2 separate regions of the Homo sapiens genome follow, and region 2 is linked to region 1. The links are contacts of gene promoters, found by promoter capture Hi-C in human tissues and cell types (Jung and others, 2019). All regions are on one chromosome and are shown on one strand. The core of a region is centred on a gene start or on the middle of the fragment in contact, and the rest is flanking DNA. Distances in the headings are between cores, read along the strand shown. Region 1 holds the start of KIF3A (kinesin family member 3A). Region 2 holds the start of SHROOM1 (shroom family member 1).

Region 1 (6,179 bases), core at 265-2,764:
ATGTGTGTATATATAAAATATTGAATGGTGATAGGTACTATGGAGAAATATAAAGTGGGGAGGGAAAAAAAGAAGAGTTTGGGCTGAAGGTTGAAATTTTAAATAAGGAAATCATGTTAGGGTTCACTGGGGTTATGTGAACAAAGACTTTCTGGAGGAGGTGAGTGGTCAGGTGGTTTTTTAGGGAAAGAGCTGTCTAGGCTGCCTGGGTTTGGACCTGGGCTCTGCCATTGTTTATATGTATGACCTTGGAAAAGTTATTTAATGGTCCTGTGCCTCAATTACTTTATCTGTAAAATAATAATAAATAGTATCTATTTCAAAAGGTTATTGTGTGGATTAAATGAATTAAAAAACGAAAGCATGTAGAACAGTACACTGGCACTATGTAAAATGCTTTATCTTTATTTCTATCAGTTCCTACTGCAAGCTCACAGCCCTTGCATGCTAAGATGGAAGCACGACGGGAATGTTGGATGAAGCAAGGAGGCCAGGTGGGGCTGGTGCAGAAGAAGCAAGAGGGAGGATTGTAGGGCTTGTGGCTTTAGCTTTGTAAGATGGGAAATCAATGGAGGGTTTTGAGCAGAGAAAAGAGAAGATCTGATTCATGTTTTAGCACCAGCACTCTGGCTCCTGTCCAGCACACTGAAAAGGGACAAGGACACACAATCAAGGAAACCAGTTCTGAGCGATTGTAGTAATGCACGTGAGAGACGATGGTGGTGGTAGAAGTGGCCAAATTCTGGTTCCACTACAAAGATAGATACAACAGGCTGTATTTAAAGATAGAATATTGTGTATGAAAGAGACTGCAATTTTGACCTGAGCAGTTGTCGGAATTAAGCTCCCACATATTGAGATGAAGAAAGTCTGAGAGGGATGAGAGAGAGCCCTTTTAAATTTTTTGATGGGGGTGGAGTGGGTAGTGGGGCGATTGATGGGGGATCAAGATTTCAATTCTGGACATGATTAACTTGAAATGCCCATTACACATTCAAGTGGACTAGAAAGAGGATGGACGGATCACTGGTTCTTTGACCAACACGTATAAAAATCCCACTCTGTGCCAGGCTCTGTGTGGGCTCTGGAGATAGATGTGAGAATACTAACAATCTCCTTAAGAGAGCTCACTTTCTAATGGTAAGACAGGTCATGAGGAAGTTAGCAATCAAGCGAGGTCAGGTAGGTAAGGTCTTCAATTCTTCGGATGAGACAAAATGTACAATTGCTATTACTGATTTTAATATTCCGGGTATTGCAAGGGCCAGAAGACGGGCCTAAGAGCAGCTCCTCCTCCCAACCCCGGGCTGCCAGGTTACCTCCGCCTCAGTGCGTGCCACATTTCTAGCGCAGCAGAATGGCAGCATTGCGCACGCGCGGCCTCAGTCTGGCGTCCTAGGAGATGGACTCGGAAAGCCTCCGCGCAGGCGTAATTCAAGGGCCGAGAGAGCCTGAGACTGGGCTTGGGGCGGGGCGAGCTCGGAATGCGGCTGCGCACTGGGCGCTCTCGCCCGAGAAGCCGCAGTCTCGAGAGCGTCAACGAGGTGTTTCGGTAGTCTCTGGCCATCCTTTCTGCGCACCCGGTGTCGCTGGGCTGCACCCCGGGCGGGGACGTCCGCCGGGCACGGGAGGGGGCCAAGATGCCGGTGAGGAGAGTCGCTTCGCTTCTGGGGTTTCTTCTCATCCTAGCGGCCTGGCCCGGGGGCGCGGCCGTTGCCATGGAGGCGCGGAGCCGGCAGGCGGCCTGGGTGGGGCGGGGCAGGCTCGGTCGTGCGGTGGAGGTGGTTGGAGAGCCTGGCTGGTCAGCCCCGGGGCCGCGGGGGTCCGGCCGGCCTCGACAGGGACCTGGGGTCAGGCCCTGCCGCCCTCGTCGCTGCTGCATCCCGTGGGGCCTGCGCCGCTTATCAAAAAGGCGCTGTGCTGGAGGATGCGCTCTGGCTCGCAGCCCTTCCTGCTGAGCGGGGCGTCTGGGGGTGGCCACGGTGGGGCTCTTTGGATGCTGCACACCTGGTGAGGCCTTTGCGCCTCGGAGCAAGCGCAGGGAGGCAGCGGAGCGAAGGCTGCCTGCCCCTATTCCAGGCCCCATACTCCGAGTCTCCTAGCCTTGAGCTGTCATTGCTCTTGTGGCGCTTTAGCTTATGATGCAGAATGAAACCCGTAGGTGTCTTTGTGTGTGTGGCGGTGTTATGTTTATCTTCCAGGATTTCACAGATTGTTATCGTGAACTTAATAATGGGGCCTTCTAAGACCCCTTATTAGGGGTCATGGAGGAAAATTGAGCCATGGCCGCTTATTTAGTGGTTGTGAGGCCTCGGATAATTATTTAATCTGTCTGGGTCCTTAGTTCCCATGTAAACTTTACCTCATGGGGTTGTTATCCGCGTGAAATAATACACAGGAGACTAGAAGGACAGTGCTTGACATTTAAGATTAAATGCTCTATATTTGTTCTGTTCACTGCTTTCAAGTTTTAATTCAGTAAATATTGGGCACCAACCACATGCTAGGCCCTGAAGATACAACATTGAGCAACACCAGTCAGGTTCTTGAACTTGGAAAGAGAGAGGCTTGCCTTCTTGGGCAGAGGTGAAAATCATACATATTTACAGACGTAAGACACAAAACCTTAATAATGAAGTGGGTGGGTATCCTACAATAGAGAGAAGTAGATTCTGGTGAATTGGAATGTATTGCCATGTAAGAATGATGGTCTGCAGATGATAACAGGTCATTTTTTTTCCTCCCAAGAAGAGACTTTAGAAATTATTTTTGTGAAATTTCTCAATTTTAGCAACTAATTCAAAAGCTCTTTAAATACTATGAACCAAACAAAAGAAATTTGTGGGCTGAATTCAGCCTCTTGACTACCTGTTTGCAACCTCTGGTGTAGACAGAAAGACATTAATCAAATAAGGAACAAGCAAAAGTAAAATTTGTGTCCAGGAAGGGGAGAGCAGGGTGCTCTCTGAGCCTATAAGAGTATTTGACCTAGTCAGGAAGTCTTCCCAGGTGAAGTGGCTGTTGAGTTCTGAAGGATAAGTAGATGTTAACTAAGTGAAGAGGGGATTGAAGATGGTTCTAGGTAGAAGGAACAGCACATGGAAAGGCCAGTGGTGAGGAGCATGGTGACAAGAAAAGGCCAAGCAGCTCAGTGTGGCTGTGGCATGGATGAGCCAGGCAGAATATCTTGTGAAATAAGCCCAGTGAAGCAGACGTGGGTGGAAGCCAGACCTTACAGACCACCTTAAGGATTCTGGTTTTTGTTCTGAGATCTATGGGAAACCACTGAAGAATTTTTAAGTAGGAGAGTGACATGATTAGATGTGTGTTGACACTGACTGCTATTTGGAGAATAGGCAGTAGGGCAATCTGATTAGATTCAGGAGTATAGTTAGGAGGCAGTAATCCAGGGCCAAGATGATGGTGATTTAGACTAGGGTGATGAATAGATGAGAGGAATAGGATGAGAGATAGATAGAAGTGTATTGTACTGATATAATCTGTTACTTGTCAGTGACAATGTCAGAGTCAATGACAATGACTCATATTTGTTTCTCTTCAATGCTTAGAAGAGAATCTGAAACAGTAGGAATTTAACAAGTATCTGTTCAACTAAACTGTCCTTTTCACTTCAATAATAGGATTGTGTTTCATTATATTTTCTTAATCATAAAATTTCAGAAATGACGGGGTGCGGTGGCACATGCCTGTAATCTCAGCACTTTGGGAGGCCGAGGTGGGTGGATCACTTGCGGTCAGGAGTTCGAGACCAGCCTGGCCAACATGATGAAATTCCGTCTCTACTAAAAATACAAAAATTAGCTGGGCATGGTGATGGACGCCTGTAATCCTAGCTGCTGGGGAGGCTGAGGCAGCAGAATCGCTTGAGCCTGGGAGGCAGAGGTTGCAGTGAGCTGAGATCACGCCACTGCACTCCAGCCTGGGTGACAGGGTGAGACTGTGCCTCATAAATAAGAAAAAAAAAATTCAGAAATGGAAACTTTACATATACAAATGCTTATAAGGTTAGGTAATACTAAGGCATTTTTCTTTGCCATTAGACTTTCATTTCTGTCTTTATCTTATTATTGTTTTCTGTAGAGAAGATAAGCCATATATGGATATATTACATGATAAAAACCATTTTACAGATGCGTGATAGGAAATAAAACTAAAGTCTCAGGGGAAACAAAGGACCTACTATTTTCTTGAGTTAAAGTTGTTAACCATGTTCACATGTGTTTTCCTACAGGCAGGAAACGCTGGGTCAGAGACTTTTGTGCAAAAAGATGATCTATAATATACTGGTTCAGTTTCTGCTTGTACAGCCTTTGCCACAAATGTGAACTAGCTCTTCTCTCCCTTTTACATTTTAAAAGAAACGATTTTCCTTTTTGTATCTTTTAATAAACTTTTCAGCTATATGTAAGATCTTTAATTGCATTTAACAAATACCTGTGAAGTGTTTAATGTGTGCAAGGCACTGAGTTGGAAAAGTAGCCTTTTAAAGTTTATAAATTTAATCTGATGAGGGTAAAAATTAATGTTCTTTTCATTATTTGTAAATATTATCTCCAACAGATCAATAAATCAGAGAAGCCAGAAAGCTGCGATAATGTGAAGGTTGTTGTTAGGTGCCGGCCCCTCAATGAGAGAGAGAAATCAATGTGCTACAAACAGGCTGTCAGTGTGGATGAGATGAGGGGAACTATCACTGTACATAAGACTGATTCTTCCAATGAACCTCCAAAGACATTTACTTTTGATACTGTTTTTGGACCAGAGAGTAAACAACTTGATGTTTATAACTTAACTGCAAGACCTATTATTGATTCTGTACTTGAAGGCTACAATGGTAAGTGAATCTTTACTTTTTAAAAAACTCCCTTATTGAGACATAATTACTGTGCCATAAATTCACATATTGCAGCTGTGCAGTTTGATGAGTGTAGTAAATATATACAGTTGTGAAACCATCATCACAATCCAGCTTTAGAACACCCTTGTCATCCTCAAAATTTCCTTTATGCCCATTTGCAGACCCACCCCCAAGCAACTATTGATCTGCTTTCTGTCACTATAATTTTGCCTTTTCTTGAAATGTCATATAAATGATGTCATATAATATGTCACCTTTTTTATCTGTTTTCTTTCACATCAAATAATGTTTTTGAAGTTTATCCTGCTAGGATTTTCATAGGGATTGTGTTGAATTGTCATTCTGACAATATTGAGTCTTCAGTCCATGAACATGATACTTCTCTTCATTTAAAACGTTGAAACATTAATGAATTATGGACAGGGTCTTGCTCTGTTGCCCAGGCTGGAGTGCAGTGGTGCAGTCATAGCTTACTGCAGCCTTGAACCTGGGCTGAAGCTATCCTCTCACTTCTGCCTCCTGAGTAATGAGAACTACAGCTGTGCGCCACCACACCTGGCTCATTTTTTTGTTTTTGTAAAGACTGGGTCTTGCTGTGTTGCTCAGTCAGGTCTTGAACTCCTAGGCTCAAGCAATCTCCTACTGAGGCCTTTCAAAGCCCTGGGATTTCCCATGTCAGCTACCATGTCCAGCTTCTCTCCATTTATTTATATCTTAATTTCTCTCATCTGTATTTTGTAGCTTTTAGTGTACAAGTATTGCACTTGTTTTGATTAATTTATTCCTAAGTATTTTTTTGATGCTATTGTGAATAGGATTGCTTTCATAATTTCAATTTTGGATTGTGTGTTACTAATATATAGAGATGAAATTGATTTCTTTAGGTAGCTTTTGTGATAAAATTCAAATATCAAATTTATGATTTTAACCATTTTACACTTTATAGTTCATAGGTACATTTACAATGTCGTACAGCTGTCACCGCTGTCTGTTTCCAGAACATTTCTATCACTCCAAAAAGAAACCCTGTATCCATTAGCAGTCAGTCACTCCCAATCCATTACCACCTCCCTTCCCCCAACCCAGCAACTACTAATTTACTGTCTATATCTATTCTATGAGTTTGCCTATTCTGGACATTTTCTATAAATGGAATTATATGCTATGTGGCCTTTTGTGAATAACTTCTTTCACTTACAGTGTTTTCAAGCTTCATCCCTATTGTAACATATAAACATATATCAGCAATTCATTACTTTTTTTTTTTTTTTGGAGACGGAGTCTTGCTCTGTCGCCCAGG
Region 2 (6,893 bases), core at 1,665-4,164, 93 kb before region 1:
AAAGACCACCACGAGCACACCTGTAGTTGAACAAGTTGGGTTCATTGCTTGTTGAAGTGAGAGAGGACACGTAGCATGGGAAACCACGTGGCATCTCAGGAAGAGAGCATTGGAAAGGACTTAGAGGATCTGGGTTTGGGTTAGTGCTTTTCAAGAGGGTTAAAGAAGCAGAACTTTCCTTTGTGCTGGATGCTGTCAAGAAGCAAGAGTAATTCTATGATTGGGTATATTAATAAATCTTATCTAGAAAGAGGAATGATTAGAGTGAGGCTAAAGCTGCAATTGGTAAAGAAGCAGCAGGTACTCACATTAGCTAGGACAGCAGGCACTCATTAGCTAGGTCATTTTTGTGACTTGGACAATGTTCATGCTTTTGTATGTGTTAGACATGATTAGAGTGCTGTTGTTTTTGTCTTGATCCATCATTGTTAAAGAACGGCCCTGTCTCACATTGATGCCCTGTGAAATGGCTTATGTCCAATGGGACAACAGTAAGGCCTTGCTGTGAATGTCAGGTCAAATTCTGGCAACACCAAGGTCCAGCTGGGCCTTTCAGATGTTAGGGGTTACTTTTCTCTTTCTCAGAACAGAAGAGGTTAAGAGAGACGTGGGTAGGTGGGATTTCAGTTTTCTGGGGACTTAGGCAGAGAGTTGCTTAGTGTGTGCAAGAGGTGAGCGGTAGGTGGGTGGAGTGGGTTAATAAGAATCGCTCTGGACTGCATCCTCATGGTCCCTAGCAGAGAGTTGCTTAGTGTGTGCAAGAGGTGAGTGGTAGGTGGGTGGAGTGGGTTAATAAGAATCGCTCTGGACTGCGTCCTCATGGTCCCTAGCAGAGAGGTGCTGTAGTGTGTGCAAGAGGTGAGTGGTAGGTGGGTGGAGTGGGTTAATAGAATTGTTCTGGACACTGTGTCCCCATAGTTTTCAAGAAATATAAGTAAAAAACATAACCATTTTTTTTTTTTTTGAGACAGAATCTCACTCTGTTGCCCAGGCTGGAATGAAGTAGCGTGATCTCGGCAGACTGCAGCCTATGCCTCCTCGGTTCAAGCGATTCTTGTGCCTAGGCCTTCCAAGTAGCTGGGACTACAGGTGCGTGCCACCACGTCCAGCTATTTTTTTTTGTATTTTTGTAGAGACAGGGCTTCGCCATGTTGCCGAGGCTGGTCTCGAACTCCTGAGCTCAAGCAATCTGCCCACCTTGGCCTCCCAAAGTGCTGGGATTACAGGCATGAGCCACCGCCCCAGCCAACATGAGCAATTAAAAATTTTTTGTTGTTGTTTGCTGGGCTGTCTTTCTTCTATTTTGATGCTGCTGTGAGACTCTGTGGATCAGGGTCTTAAAAATATTAAAAGTCTTTCAGGCCGGGTGCGGTAGCTCATGCCTGTAATCCAGCACTTTGGGAGGCCAAGGTGGGTGGATCACCTGAGGTCACGAGTTTGAGACCAGCCTGGCCAACATGGCGAACCCCGTCTTTACTAAAAATACAAAAATTAGCTGGGCGTGGTGCCCGGTGCCTGTAATCCCAGCTACTTGGGAGGCTGAGGCAGGGAAAATTGCTTGAACCTGGGAGGCGCAGGTTTCAGTGAGCAGAGATCCGGCCACTGCACTCCAGCCTGGGCGACAGAGGGAGACTCTGTCTCAAAAAAGCAAAACAAACAACAAAAGTCTTTCAAAGCCGAAAGGTTCTTAGGCACTGTCTTAAAGCCTAGCGCTCCAGCTGAAGCTGGTGCCTGAGTCCAGATGGTGTTGAAGAAGGAGCAGGGCCCAGCGGGCACCACTCTCAGAAGTCGGGCTCAGGTGTCTCCTGCCTCCGAACCCAAGAAGACCCAAGAAGACAGAGTTCCTCAGGCTCCCAGTGTCCCTAGGAAGTGGCAACCTTGACTCTTGGCCAGAGTTCAGAGTCCTGGTTATTAACACCAATAAACCTTTATTTGCCAGGGATACTACCATGGGAGGACACAGCCCCTGAGCCCAGCCCTGTTGATCCTGTGGGAGCGGGAGGGCAGCGGAGGACAAAGGCAGAGACCTGAGAGCCGGAGAGGCTCATCAAAGGGTCCCCAGCCCCTCTCAGGAACGGAGCATTTCTTGGCAGAGTGGTATTCATAGGACAGAGTTTGGGAAGTCGGGGCAGGGGAGCCTGAGGACACAGCAAGGAGAGCTCAGTGGCAGGTGCAGGCAGAGCGTTCTTTGGAAAATGGAGATCCTGGAAGGTGAGGGCCTCGAGCGCCAGTGTCCAGCCTTAGTGGGTATGCATATGTCCAGCTCCCTAAGGACACACTCAGGACAGCTAAGGTGCACACAAGTCCAGGGGCTTCCCCGTGCTCCGCCCCCCTCTCCCCCACCCCGGTAGCAGGCTGGAGGGCCCAGACCATGCTGGGTAGTGGGAGAAATGGAAAGAAATGGGACAGGGAACAGGAGACAAGAGCCCATGGTGGGAGTCAAAGAGCTGGAAGAGTTTTGGAAATGGGGGTCTGGGGGTAGAGTTGATCAAGGGCCGAGTTACTCAGCGGGACAGGTGGGAGGCACGAGGCCCTGGCAGCTCTGTTTTCTTGGCCGGGCTTGGGGGGGAAAGCGGGTAGCCGTCAGGCGCCTAAGGGCCCGCCCTGGACCTCCCCACCGAGGGAGGTGTCAGGCCCCGAGGGACCCGGCCCCCGAGCATCACGGACGCGCTGGAGGCCGGTGGGCGGTCGCCGTAGTCGCCCTCCCACCACCTCGCTCAGGTTTCTCCGGCCTGGGGCAAGAGGCCTGTGGCCCGCGCGGGAACGCACTGTCCACCCTCAGACCTGGGACTGGGCCGGCGCGCGGACGCTACCAAGAGGCTGCGGCTCCCGCCCCCGCGGCCGGACGTGGCGCCTCCCCTGAGGCCGCGGCCGGAGCCTGGAGGTGGGGTCGGAGTCAGAGCCCGGGGCTCTGATGTCACCGCGCGGCTGCGACGGCCCAGGAGCGCGTCTCGGCGGGAGCCTCAGGTACGCGGCGGGGGCGGGGGAGCGGGAAGCGGGCGGCTGGGTCCGCTTCCCCCGGGAGGCCGGCGGGGCTGCGGGCGGACGGGGGTGAAGAGCGGGCGGCGAGGCGGTGGTCGCGGGGCAGCCCGGGCATCGTTCGGCCGGGACGTGTCTGGCTCGGCGCCGCGTCAGGTTGCGCCAGTGGAGTCGGACCCCAGCGCGCCTCTCCCAGCTGCAGAGCTGCAGGGCGGAGAGGCGGCCCACTCTAAGCTGGCGGCGCGGCTCAGGGGCGCGGCTGGGCGCGCCGCGTGTGGCGCCGGCGGGCAGCGCGGTCTCACTCCGCCACCCTCCGCTCCTGCCCTTTGTCGCCAAGCATCTGGAGAAGCCGGGTCCTTCCCTCCCGGGCTCGCGCTGTCCCCTGCGCGCGATCCTTCCCCGACGGTGAACCCAACGGGAAAGGCCCAGAACTGCGCGGGGCTGCGGCCATCTGCTGTCGAGCCGCTCCGCGTGTCTCTGCCGCCCCCTGCGGCCGCCGGGGCCTGCGCCTCTCTCCCTCCCGTGCCTCGGCTCCCAGAGATTGAACCCCAGGTAACCGGGTCTGTCCACGCCCGCGGCCGCCTCTCCCCGGGTGTCGCCAGCTTCCTGCATTTCCTGTGCATGGCACGGAGCTCGGGTCTCCAGAGACTCTGCATCTGGGGTGCAGCGACCGATGAGCCCGTAAACCAGTCGCACACTCGGAGCGTGGATGCTGCGTGGGGTGCGCTGTCAGCGCGGACAGGCTGGGAGAACGGGGGACGCTGGGGACAGGGAGAGCCGGTGAACTTCCCAGAACGTCCGCCTAGCCAGACCCAGCTGCGGGTACTGGGTTTTGAGACGTGGTCCAGTACCCAGGAACTCAGTCTGACAGGGAGACAGCGCCTACACAGTGAGCCCAGTACTGAGGGAAGACCCGCTGGGAGGGGCGGCCTGGATAGCCCCTCCACAGAGAGGTCAGATGTGAGGTGGCCTTGAGGGAGGTATGATGTAAATCCTGATCATTCGTTGTATTTGAGGCTGTCCGTTCTCCTGTGCCTCCTCGGTCGCCTTACTTGGATCTGTTCCCATTGCCTTGGTGTGATTTTATCCACCGGAAACTGTCTTCAGCTATTTCCCCAGTAACCTCTAACTAAAAACCTGGGTCTTGCCTGGTCTACCCTCCCCTGCTGAACTCCAGAGCCACATCCCAACTGCTGCCTGACTTGTCACAGACACCATGAAGCCCAGACTGAAGGAGCACTGGCCCCCTTGACAATTCCTCAGCCCCAGCTCCTCCTTTCAGACTGGTGCCTCCACCTGCCAGACCCCTAGCTTTGAAGGCCAATCTCATCTTCGTCTCCTTCCTCTCTGGCTCCTTCATTCAGGTGACAAGTATACATCAAATGCCCACCCCAACTCCCCCTCCCAGGACTCCAATCTGGTGTCTTTCTAGCGGGGAGTCTAGGTTGCTCCCTCTGCTCTGGAGAGGCTTGGCAAAATGCCTGCAGAGCTCCTTGAGCTCCACCTCTGAACTCCCTTTCAGCAGCCGGCACAGGCATAACAGCCCAGCCCACAGGTACCACTGCCACTGAGGCAGGGACCCCTAAGGTAGGGCTACCCCCAGCCACAGGGGCTGGCTGGACTGCAAGAGGCTCCCTGCAGCCAGACAAGTATGAAAATGCCTTGTTGTTTTGTGCTGAGGCCCCCCAAAACACACCAAAGCAGCTGGGCCCTCTTGGCATGGTAGGTTCTGCAAAGCACCCACTGTGAGGAGCCTGCGTGAACATCAACCTGATAGGGCCACCAGTGCAAAAGCATCTTCAACAAGTTACAGTCAATAAGGAAACACATGTGTAGACACATTTTTATTGCCCATTCAAGCTGTTTTTATTTGCTGAATTCAGAATCCTTTAACATAGTAACTCACAAATAAGATAGATTTTCATAGATTTTCAAGACCTCTTTTGAGGAAACATCTTGTGTTTGGTGATCCCCATCTGTAGCTGCAGCAAGCCAAAATGGGCAGGATGGGTGACATGAGCTAGTGCTCCCAAGCTGGACTCAGAAAGAGTAGGAAGAGAAAGGGCTAATGTCTGAGCAGTCGGGTGGGCTTCCTAGATGAGGGGACTGTCCTCCCAGGAGCTGCTACTCAGAGTAGTTTCTTGTCCTCCTAAAGTTTAGAGTGGAAATACTTTGCAAAAGAGGTCCCCAACCCTAAGTGTGAGGGCTAAGCTCCTGGGCTTAGTAGGCATATACAAATGCCCCCAGGTGGGTGACATCAAGATGTTCTGGTCCTAGGTCTGCTGAGAGCCTCTCCTGGGAATGTTGTAGGTACTGCCTTTCCCTTTTAGGAAACACCATATCCTCCTACCACTAACCCCCATCCTTGCCCTAACCAGCAATCTGTAACATCCTGGGCCTCAGGGACGTGGGTGGAGGGTGACTCTGAGCTCCAGATAGTGTCTAGGAGGCTCAAATAAGCCTGCTTTTTGGTCCTCACCCTAGCCGTGGGCCACCCTACTCTGCACTCCCTACCAAGCAGCTCAGAGAATGGAGGCCAGCGCCCAAAAGTCTCCATAGTTCATAGGGAGCCCCAAACCTCAACACTGCCCTTTCCCAAGCCTCAAAATTTCTCTTACCCTGACCCAGGCACACCCACTCAACTCTTACCCTTGATCCCCCTCCCAGGACCAGAAGGGATTGATTTCTGGTGAGTCCTGCCCCAAGCTGTGCTTGCCTGCTCTGTTCGTACCTAATATTGCATGAGGAACCTGGCCAGTGTCTATGGTGGCAAGTGCTTCACCCATTCTGTCCTCTTCCCCAGAAAAGACTAATAGGGAGGGAAGAAGCGTGCGCAGAAGCTAAGGAACTCTCTTCCTTCTCTACCAAGGCCACCCCTACATCTACTCCCTGCAAATCTGTTATTTCCCTTGACATTCAGCAAATATTTGGGGTTTTGTTTTGTTTTGTTTTGTTTTGTTTTGTTTTGAGACAGAGCCTCACTTTGTCGCCAGGCTGGAGTGCAGTGGCGCGATCTCGGCTCACTACAACTTCCGCCTCCCGGGTTCAAGCGATTCTTCTGCCTCAGCCTCCCGAGTAGCTGGGACTACAGGCGTGTGCCACCACGCCCAGCTAATTTTTGGTATTTTTAGTAGAGATGGGGTTTCACGATGTTGGCCAGGATGCTCTTGATCTCTTTACCTAGTGATCCGCCCACCTCGGCCTCCCAAAGTGCTGGGATTACAGGCGTGAGCCACTGCACCCGGCCCAAATATTTAACATTGACTGTATGCCAGGGACTCTGCTGGGCACTGAGAGTGCAGCAATGAGGAAGAGCAGGGCCCATTCTCAGGAAGCTCAGGGGTGGGAATGGGAGGAGGGAATCAGAAGCAAGCCAACAGGGACAGTGTGGGGTGGGGGTCAGCTCAGCACACTGTAGGAGTCCCAAAAAGTGAGGAGACCTCTAAGCTGAGTCCTACAGGAGAAGCAAGAATAGAAGCAGGGCAAAGATGGGGGTCGGCCCATCATTCCTAGACGAAAGGCAGAGTTTGAGAAGTGGGGGCCAGATTATTTTGGAATCTGCCAATAGTGTATGGGGAGGTAGGGGTGACTTTCCCATAGTGGAGTGTGGGCTTCCTTGGAGGATTCAGGCTGTTGGGGAACAGGAGGGATGGTAAACTGCCTTTCAGCAGGGCTTGCTTCTAGGAAATTGATTCTGGCTGCAGTGAGCGTGGAGGCAGGCCTGGATTCCAGGCAGGCTTCTGCCACGTCCCAGCTGTGTGGCCCTGGACAAATCATTTCCCTCTCAGAACCTCATTGTCCTTGTCTGTAAAATGCAGACAGCAGTTGCAACGATCAAAATAAATATTTATATAAAGCACCTGGAACATAACAGGCACAGAGGGAGGGAGGAAGGCTGTGAAGCTGCCTCTGCC

What was found. The method cuts DNA at HindIII sites, captures the fragments that hold promoters and counts their contacts. A contact is called where the count stands out against the background at its distance.
Region 2: a contact is called between the fragment with the promoter of SHROOM1 here and the fragment with the promoter of KIF3A in region 1, in 1 of the 25 tissues and cell types used here (hippocampus).

Annotation. Positions count from the first base shown.
Region 1 is chr5:132,732,881-132,739,059 of GRCh38, reverse strand. KIF3A (kinesin family member 3A) reads left to right here and starts at 1,514. Exons shown (of 19, transcript NM_001300791.2): 1 at 1,514-1,646; 2 at 4,582-4,855. The coding sequence starts at 1,641. RefSeq lists a silencer at 1,650-1,959 and an enhancer at 2,110-2,209. The HindIII fragment of the contact is 7,994 bases long and covers 1-3,042 here.
Region 2 is chr5:132,826,668-132,833,560 of GRCh38, reverse strand. It overlaps SHROOM1 (shroom family member 1), which reads left to right and starts at 2,914. Exons shown (of 10, transcript NM_001172700.2): 1 at 2,914-2,967; 2 at 5,954-6,100. RefSeq lists silencers at 2,606-3,025, 3,236-3,545. The HindIII fragment of the contact is 17,651 bases long and covers 1-6,893 here.